Linked DNA regions of Homo sapiens: region 1 is linked to region 2. The links are contacts of gene promoters, found by promoter capture Hi-C in human tissues and cell types (Jung and others, 2019). All regions are on one chromosome and are shown on one strand. Each heading gives the region's core, a stretch centred on a gene start or on the middle of the fragment in contact. The rest is flanking DNA. Distances are from core to core; before and after follow the strand shown. Region 1 overlaps LOC105378250 (a long non-coding RNA gene). Region 2 holds the start of HOXC4 (homeobox C4).

Region 1 (4,994 bases), core at 1,879-4,378, 240 kb before region 2:
TCCCATCTTTCTGGTTCAAAAAGTATCTAAGATATAGACTCATTTGCACATAGTTCCTCTATGAGGGAAGGAATTGGCATTTTAAAAACTCCTCAATTGCTAGGTCAATTTGTGTTGGTTCAGCTGAGCAAACTTCTGACAAGGCTGTAGCTTTGATCTGTAGTCTGTCTTGGGATTCTTCTAAGGAAGACTCAATGTTTTGGTCACTTGGAGGTAGAAGGATATTGGTAATGACTGGGATATGGAGAAAACATGAAATCTTAGCCAGGAGAAGCTATCTCAGGAATCTGTAATGAGTGCGTGTTATTTCTTTTCCAACAGGCTGCATAATTTTTATGACCAATTATTCCATTTGTAATGACGCTGAGATAACAGAGATCTCATCTCATGCTCCATGGCACACGCCAGGCACTCATGGGAACTAGACGAAACCATCCCTTATACAAGAATTGGATAGGCAGAGTGTTTCCACCAAGATTTAGTTCTAGCAGGAGAGACAGACATAAGTGCTAAGAAAAAACTTTGTGAACAGCAAAGGGTATAAGGAACTGGAAGACGGGCCTGGAGAGGACTGAAGCTTTAAAATGAAGGAGGGATTTATTAGGGATACATAAAAGAGTTGTCTTCTAGCCTTAGAATTTTGTGGTCTGGTGTTGCTTTTGATGATGTTATTTACATGTAACAAATGAACAGGTGTCTTTGGCTGTGAGATAGTGTCATCCCAAGCCACAAGGAACCAGCCTTTTCCCACAAAGATTTTGAGAGCTCAGTTGGAAAGAATTGGCTTTGGGACGTTTAGAAAAAGACTAGGTCCAGATTGTGGGGCATGATGCTCTTCCTGGGGCTAGTGGTCCTCTTTTCCCTTATACCCAACTTTTGAGTCAGGAGAGTGCTGATGATCTCCTAATCAGATCTGGTAATTAGTTCATCATGTCTGAATAGAGGCAAGCTAAGGGTTCACATCTAGTTGCTCCCACTGATTGGTCTCAAACATTTACCTCCTCCTGCCTCCACAGTTTTCTCCAGAATCTTCCCCAACTATTTGCCCTTTTACCACTCTTCTCTCTGGTATTTCTTATCCATTAATTGATAAGGGCGGGGTAGTTGAAGCCAGGCAGGCCTGGGTTTGAATCCCAGCTCTGTCACTATTGTGTCACTTAGACTTTTTGATCTTGTTTTCCCATCTATAAAATGGGAATAAGACCCACTGCTCAGGTTAGTTGTAAAGGTTGAATAAGAGAATGTTTAAGTGAGGGCTTGGCACTTAGCATGTGCTTATAATAAAAGGTAGTTGATCATTTTCTTTAGAATTCCCTCTCTCTACTCCTTGACTACTTTTCATTAGAGTAGAGAGAATTGGGGAGAGAAAGAGTGATGCCCAAATAGATGGATATAATAGAGTGATTGTAAGGAAAATGGAAGGATAACAAGAGGGACGGATATCATGGAGACAGATAAACAAAGATAGTTATAGTTAGAGGAACAGATAGTGAAAACCAGTCAGAAGCAAGATTAAGTGAAAGATACAAAGATGGACAAAGGAGAGAGGAGCAGTGAAAGGTAAGTGAAGGAATGAAGAGGTGGAAAGTCAGATGGAAAGGCAGAGACATGAGTTGAGAGCCAGACAAAGACTGCCAGAGGACAGAGATGGAGAGTTAATTTGTGGAACTTGGTGTAAAACCCCTGGAATAAGAGCTCTCCTGGCTTCTTGCCCCTTGTTATTGTGTGACTTGAGTTCTAAGTCTCTGGTTCCCTCAACCCTTTTCCTCCCTGTTTATGCCACTGCCAAACCACTTATACAGATCTGCCTCTACACTGAAGCTTGAGCGGCCCTGCCCCCTTCTCTTCTACACTCTGCATCCCACACCATCTTAGTTACCTAAGTCCATAGGGATTTTTCATTTCAAAAAAACTGTTTGGAGTGCAAAAGCATCATGGTGTCAGCCAGTCAGTGCAATAACCAGGTGCAGTTTTACAGTCGCTCCCCCGACTGTAACTGCACTTTCATATATCTCTGGCTGCGACAGCCAATTTTCTTTCAAAGATTGTTTTTTCTGGAGCCTGTGATTTCTACTCTCGCCTCCAACCTCTGGGATATTAAAACGGGGTCAGTGGCTCTTGGCAGGCTGACCAATTTGTGGTCACTCCCTAGCTCCTCTATTCACTCTCCCTGTTGCTATCTCCAATCTTGTCATCCCTCTGCCTCTGCACGCCATCTAGTCACGCTAGAGGAAAATGGCTCTGGTGGTTAAAGCTCTCCAGAGAGATGCCTCAGCCTTCTGGGAGGTTACAGTCCTTCGCACTGAGAGGTTTTGTCATGTGTCTAACCTTAAGAGTTGAGGTTAAGTGCGGTGGGGAAGGGGATCCAGGAGCAGATTCACCTTCTAAGCCTTTCCCTATCCTTCTCCTCAACCCTGCCCTGCCCCATTGTGTTCTGGGATGGAGCTGTCAGTTCCTTTCCATGAGAATACTGTAGCTTTTCTTTCTTTCTTTCTTTCTTTCTTTCTTTCTTTCTTTCTTTCTTTCTTTCTTTCTTTCTTGCTTGCTTTCTTGCTTTCTTTCTTGCTTTCTTTCTCTCTCTTTCTCCCTTTCTTTCCTTCCTTCTTTCCTCTTTCTTTCTCTCTCTCTTTCTCTTTCTCTCTTTTCTTCTTTCTCTCTTTTCTTTCTTTCTTTCTTTCTTTCTTTCCTTCCTTCCTTTCTTTCTTCTTTCTTTCCTTCTTTCTTTCTCTCTCTTTCTTTCTTCCTTCCTTCCTTTCTTCCTTTCTTTCTTGCTTTCCTTCTTTCTTTCTTTCCTTCTTTCCTTCTTTCTTCCTTCCTTCCTTCCTTCCTTCCTTCCTTCCTTCCTTCCTTCCTTTCTTCTTTCTTTCTTTCTTTCTTTCTTTCTTTCTTTCTTTCTTTCTTTCTTTCCTTCTTTCTTTCTTTCTTTCTTTCCTTCTTTCTTTCCTTCCTTCCTTCTTTGACAGAGTCTGGCTCTGTCACCCAGCCTGGAGTGCATGGCAGGATAATAGCTCGGTGCAGCCTCAAACTCCTGGGTTCATGCCATCCTCCTGCCTCAGCCTCCCAAGTAGCTCGGACTGCAAGCATGTACCATTGTGCTGGGCTTATTATTATTATTATTGTTTTTAGGGATGGGGTCTTGCTATGTTGCTCCGGCTGGTCTTGAATTCCTAGCCTCCAGCAATCCTCCTGCCTCAGAGTCCCAAAGTGTTGGGATTACAGGCATGAGACAGTGTACCTGCCTCAGTAGCTTATTTTCTAAGGGGAACATTTTGAAGAACTGGGGGAATAGAATTAGGGTTTAACATTAGGGAGTTTTCTTTGCTAGAAACTGAGAGTGGGGTGAGGTGGGAAAGCTCGTACAATCTCTTTTTCTGGGAAATTGGGAGAATAGGAGGAATTCCCATATAGGTGAAGGGCTGGGTTAGTGGACATTTAGCACATGGGGAAGGGATATGGAAATGTTTGGATCCCTACCTCCCTGATGAGAGATTGTGATTCTGCTCTTGCTGATAAAAGCAATCTCTTCCCACCAAAAGCAGTCTCTTCCATTGTTTGCCGGTATGGTATTTGCTGGCCAGCAAAATGCCTTCTTTCTGTCACCCAGGTAGGGTTTTTTTTTTTTTTTTCTTGGAAGAAAGACTTGTATCTGCCTTTGGGGTTGTCCATTTGGGGATTTTTCTATTTCCTTCCTTGGCCCATGGCCTGATGCAAAATACTTCCTGTGGCCTAACTCTTGTTCCTCTTGCTTTACTAACAGGTTGAACCCTCTTGAAAAACAACATGATACAGCACACTCCCCCTCCTCACTCATATCATCCCTTGTTTTTATTAAATAAAAGTAAGTGGAGCTATAAGATGTGACTGGCCTGGATCCCAGCTTCATAAAACAAAACTAACACCCTCTTTATCAAGGGGCTGAGGCATCCGGAGAAGATTTCTTAGGCCATTTTGCTGTCACGTAAATGGGAATCAATATTCAATAAGCCCTTGATGCACTACGCTAGCAGTTCACTTAATACCGGCTTCCAGTACAGTAAGTGGCGTTGATATAGGGAGGGCTTGTTTGTAAAATAACACTGCAGCCCTCACCTCCTGGATATTGGATCTGGCTTCTCCTAAGCAAGAAGATTCAAAACTCTGAGGAAGCAGGAGAGTCTTTTTGCCAATCCCATTGCCTCAGGACAGACTCACCTATAATCTAGCTTGCAAAAGAGAACAGATTCTGTGCTTGTATTAAAACCAATCAGTCTAAGAGATCCTGGAGGTTAATAGGCCCACATTCCTATCAGGAAGATTTCCACTGTGTCTGCCCTGATTGCCTCCTTCTTCAATAAATTAGTCAAATTGAAAACAGATTTAAGGATAGAATTGATTCCACTGCTACTAACGTTATGAGGATAGACCCTTCTGTGTCCTGAAAGCCTGCAGTGGCTGGAAATAATACCTCCTTTCTCCCAGCCCCTGTGTTTGCTATCGGGAAGGACTGCTGGCTGCCTTGGCCCCTGGTGGATGGTGGCAGGTCCAGGTTTCTCCGTGCATAGTCACTGTGAGAATCTGGTAGGAAATGGGCTGTTTCAAAATGGTCAATTATTTCTTTTTCCATTCTGTGACATCTTTGCTGGGGATTTGTAACCTTAGGCTTGCTTCTCCTCCACAGCTCTAAACAAGCATGTGTTAAGGAAAAGCAATCTGATGTCTGCCTAAATATAACAGGTGAATATTGTACCAAAGCTTCATATAATACGTTTCAGAACCAAGTAGATTTTAGCCATTCTTTTTCAGTGCCAGTGTTCACAGAGTTTAGGAATTAACAATTTGGGGTTGAAGTAGGAACATATAGAGAGATTTATCCTGCATTATGGTTGTGACGATTTCTTATCCCATTTTAGGGGGTTCGATGTTTGGGAGGAAGCTGAAGGTAGAGGACTTTTCAGCACTACTGTTTGGGGATATGCTGATGGAGGTCAGTCCCACTCTTTCTAGTGACCCTGTAA
Region 2 (4,579 bases), core at 678-3,177:
TGATGAGAAAAGGATTGGAATCTCTTGCCTTCAGTCTCCCTCTCACAAGGGCTTTATTTTTTTTTTCCCTTTCCCCTCCTCATTCCCTTAATTGCAGATGTTCTAATTAAACCCTCAAATAGTTGTTATGCCGTTTTAAAAGGTACTTATTCAAGTGTCAACCAGGCTGGGCTGGGAGGAGGTAGCGTAGGGCGGCGAATTAAAGGTAGATTGACTAATCACGGCGGCGATCATAATAATAAAATCAGAGGGAAAAAAAATCACATTACGACTTTTCGTGGAAAGGAGGGAGCAGGCAGCCAGCGGCCGCCAGCCCTGCGCCGCCGCCGACACAAAGAGTGCGGGCGATTCCGCGAGACTGATTTATGACGTTTTACAGCCCTATAAAAGCTGTAGCGACGAGGCAAGCGCTCCTACCACCGCTGGCAGATTTAGTCTAATAAATAAAACATAAACAGTTAACTTTATGTGTCACTTTTATTGTTATCAAGTAAAATATAGCTGAGCCCTGGCAAGCTATGATTTTAAACTATAATTGTTATCAAGTACAACAAGGGGACCCGGCTCCCTCCCTGGGCTCTCCCCTCCGCTACCCCCCGCAACTCTGAGTTATGGGCGATCAGTTAATTGGAATCGGTGGCATGACAGGACCACCCCTAGCTGGGGGGGGGGGGTGGTGGTTAGGAAAGCAGCTTTTCCTGGCCCCCTCCCTCCTCTACGGCCCTGTCACCCCCCTCCATCAGAGTATTACTGTGAGTGGGTGGCAGAGAGAGAGCAGGGGGTGTGAATGGGCTGGAGACCCCAAAGGCTGGCCGTGCCTCCCCAACTTGGTGAGCTTAGCCTTCCGTTTTTGGAAAGCAGCCTGGAGCTGGCCTTTAGGAATTCGTGTTTACATGTAAACACACGTGTTACATGGATACAGCTCCTAGCCAGAAGCAAGCAGGCTCTACCCACACAGGCCTCCCTCTTAGCTAGGTCTGCCCTCTGTGGGGACAGAGAAAGAACTCTCAGGATCTTGGCTGGGCACCATCACAGGGCACTGACTCCTGGCAGAAAGCTCTCCTCCTTGCCCCAGCTCCTTGGAGATAATTGTCAGAAAATAGCAGGCCGGGCTGAATGGGGAGTGGAAACAGAAGCCAGCAGTAGAAGAGATCCTCTGCTCTGGGGCTGGGGCAGGGAGGGTCAGTGGGTAGCAGGGGAAGGCGAGACTTCTGAACTCTGCTTTTGCCAACCACTTCCTGTCTCTCTTCAGCGGGGGCTCAACCCCCAGACCTCCAGAAATGACGTCAGAATCATTTGCATCCCGCTGCCTCTACCTGCCTGGTCCAGCTGGGACCCTGCCTCGCCGGCCGCATGGCCAGAGGGTTGGGTGAGTGTGTATGGGGAAGAGGGGCTGGACTCTGGTATCCTTGGATGGGGGGCACTCCAGGCTCTCCAGCCTCCTCGGCTCAGCCTGGGCCCCTCCCCATCCAACATCCACTCCAGTCCTCATTCAACTTCCTCTTCCTGCGAAAGAGGGGCGCTGCCCCGTGACCTACACAGACTGAGACACGATCGCCATGAATGGAGACCTCTGGAAAAGCTCAGGAGCCGAGGCCCACGGGGCCCAGCAGAGGCCTGAGGGGAGACCCTGGGCGGGGGCTGAATCACTGCCTCCCGACAGTCCCCCAATGCCCGGGCTTTGGAGGGGAGCCGGGAGCTTCCCATCTCCTTTTGCAGGGGAGGGTTGTCAGTCTGGCGGGATGTGCACTGGGGGCACTCCAACCTCTGCTAGCTAACCCCACATCACCACCCACCCCCGCCTCCCAGCACCACCACCACCACACACACAAAAAAATTGGATACATTTTGAATAAAGCGATTCGGTTCCTTATCCGGGGACTGGGTTGCTCCGTGTGATTGGCCGGAGGAGTCACATGGTGAAAGTAACTTTACAGGGTCGCTAGCTAGTAGGAGGGCTTTATGGAGCAGAAAAACGACAAAGCGAGAAAAATTATTTTCCACTCCAGAAATTAATGATCATGAGCTCGTATTTGATGGACTCTAACTACATCGATCCGAAATTTCCTCCATGCGAAGAATATTCGCAAAATAGCTACATCCCTGAACACAGTCCGGAATATTACGGCCGGACCAGGGAATCGGGATTCCAGCATCACCACCAGGAGCTGTACCCACCACCGCCTCCGCGCCCTAGCTACCCTGAGCGCCAGTATAGCTGCACCAGTCTCCAGGGGCCCGGCAATTCGCGAGGCCACGGGCCGGCCCAGGCGGGCCACCACCACCCCGAGAAATCACAGTCGCTCTGCGAGCCGGCGCCTCTCTCAGGCGCCTCCGCCTCCCCGTCCCCAGCCCCGCCAGCCTGCAGCCAGCCAGCCCCCGACCATCCCTCCAGCGCCGCCAGCAAGCAACCCATAGTCTACCCATGGATGAAAAAAATTCACGTTAGCACGGGTAGGCAACTTTGCTTTTTGCTCCCCCCCTCCCTCCCTTCTTCCCTAGCGCTCCCCACCCTCCTCGGCCCCCTCTGGCCCCCGTCCTCCTTTCTCTCCTTCCCCCTCTCTCTCCAGGAGCGACTCTGGGTTAGCACAATTGAACTGGATTTACGAGCGAGAATGGGTAATTACATCCCCCATAAATTTTATGGCTTAGCTACTCTGGGCAGTCCGAGCCATGTGCTACGATCTGTTATGTATGTGTGAAAACTATGCTCGCTTTCTAAGGGCGCATAAATAATTCAGTGTCGTTACAATGAGGATTCCCCTCTTATTACACTACAAAGTCTTCAGCTTCCTTCAACTTCTTTATAACCCATTTAAGCTTGATGACTTTATTTCCACCACTCCCTCCTCCTGTTTCTCAGAGCTGAGGATGGGGTGAGGGTGGGGGGCGGGGAGCCTGCTGCCTCTGAACCCCACTATTTGCTTTTCCCCTCCCCCCAGTGAACCCCAATTATAACGGAGGGGAACCCAAGCGCTCGAGGACAGCCTATACCCGGCAGCAAGTCCTGGAATTAGAGAAAGAGTTTCATTACAACCGCTACCTGACCCGAAGGAGAAGGATCGAGATCGCCCACTCGCTGTGCCTCTCTGAGAGGCAGATCAAAATCTGGTTCCAAAACCGTCGCATGAAATGGAAGAAGGACCACCGACTCCCCAACACCAAAGTCAGGTCAGCACCCCCGGCCGGCGCTGCGCCCAGCACCCTTTCGGCAGCTACCCCGGGTACTTCTGAAGACCACTCCCAGAGCGCCACGCCGCCGGAGCAGCAACGGGCAGAGGACATTACCAGGTTATAAAACATAACTCACACCCCTGCCCCCACCCCATGCCCCCACCCTCCCCTCACACACAAATTGACTCTTATTTATAGAATTTAATATATATATATATATATATATATATAGGTTCTTTTCTCTCTTCCTCTCACCTTGTCCCTTGTCAGTTCCAAACAGACAAAACAGATAAACAAACAAGCCCCCTGCCCTCCTCTCCCTCCCACTGTTAAGGACCCTTTTAAGCATGTGATGTTGTCTTAGCATGGTACCTGCTGGGTGTTTTTTTTTAAAAGGCCATTTTGGGGGGTTATTTATTTTTTAAGAAAAAAAGCTGCAAAAATTATATATTGCAAGGTGTGATGGTCTGGCTTGGGTGAATTTCAGGGGAAATGAGGAAAAGAAAAAAGGAAAGAAATTTTAAAGCCAATTCTCATCCTTCTCCTCCTCCTCCTTCCCCCCCTCTTTCCTTAGGCCTTTTGCATTGAAAATGCACCAGGGGAGGTTAGTGAGGGGGAAGTCATTTTAAGGAGAACAAAGCTATGAAGTTCTTTTGTATTATTGTTGGGGGGGGGTGTGGGAGGAGAGGGGGCGAAGACAGCAGACAAAGCTAAATGCATCTGGAGAGCCTCTCAGAGCTGTTCAGTTTGAGGAGCCAAAAGAAAATCAAAATGAACTTTCAGTTCAGAGAGGCAGTCTATAGGTAGAATCTCTCCCCACCCCTATCGTGGTTATTGTGTTTTTGGACTGAATTTACTTGATTATTGTAAAACTTGCAATAAAGAATTTTAGTGTCGATGTGAAATGCCCCGTGATCAATAATAAACCAGTGGATGTGAATTAGTTTTACGTCAATGTCTGATGGTTTCTTTTTATTCCCCTCCCTCTCTGGCCTGGTAACATCCCATCTTCTCTATAGTTGCCTAAGTTTACTTTAAACAAACACACAAATCTTAGCTCTCCATTAGTCTTCCAATGTCCTTAGAAGAACAAGCAAGGGGGTTGGGGTATGGGATCTTCAGAAGAGGGGATGTGGAAGATTAAGGCTGATTTCTCCAGTCCCCTTCCTTCCCCCTGAGTCTGCAGAGAGACCAGACTCCTCTGGGGGCACTTCAGTGGAGCTGAGGGTGGGGAGTGTCTCACTTTTCTATAGTTAGGTACAGTTTCTTCTTTTTGTCTTTTCTCTCTCTTCCCTTCTCCCTCCTCTGTGCTGAGTAGGCCTGCCTACTTTGTAGACAAGGGGGCAAGTTTAGGGAGTGGGAAGGAGAATAGTTTTCTTTCATCTTTTAGGGCTCTTTTGGGATG

The links. The method cuts DNA at HindIII sites, captures the fragments that hold promoters and counts their contacts. A contact is called where the count stands out against the background at its distance.
Region 1: a contact is called between a fragment that was not itself captured here and the fragment with the promoter of HOXC4 in region 2, in 1 of the 25 tissues and cell types used here (thymus).

What each region holds. Positions count from the first base shown.
Region 1 is chr12:53,809,620-53,814,613 of GRCh38, forward strand. All of the region lies in intron 1 of LOC105378250 (a long non-coding RNA gene), which reads left to right. Among named protein-coding and RNA genes, the nearest start is that of CISTR, 60 kb to the left of the region's middle. The HindIII fragment of the contact is 3,858 bases long and covers 1,200-4,994 here.
Region 2 is chr12:54,051,908-54,056,486 of GRCh38, forward strand. HOXC4 (homeobox C4) reads left to right here and starts at 1,928. Exons shown (of 2, transcript NM_153633.3): 1 at 1,928-2,454; 2 at 2,943-4,123. The coding sequence starts at 2,016. The coding sequence ends at 3,298. RefSeq lists enhancers at 1-705, 706-1,687, 983-1,142 and a cis regulatory region at 1,719-2,219. The HindIII fragment of the contact is 12,403 bases long and covers 1-4,579 here.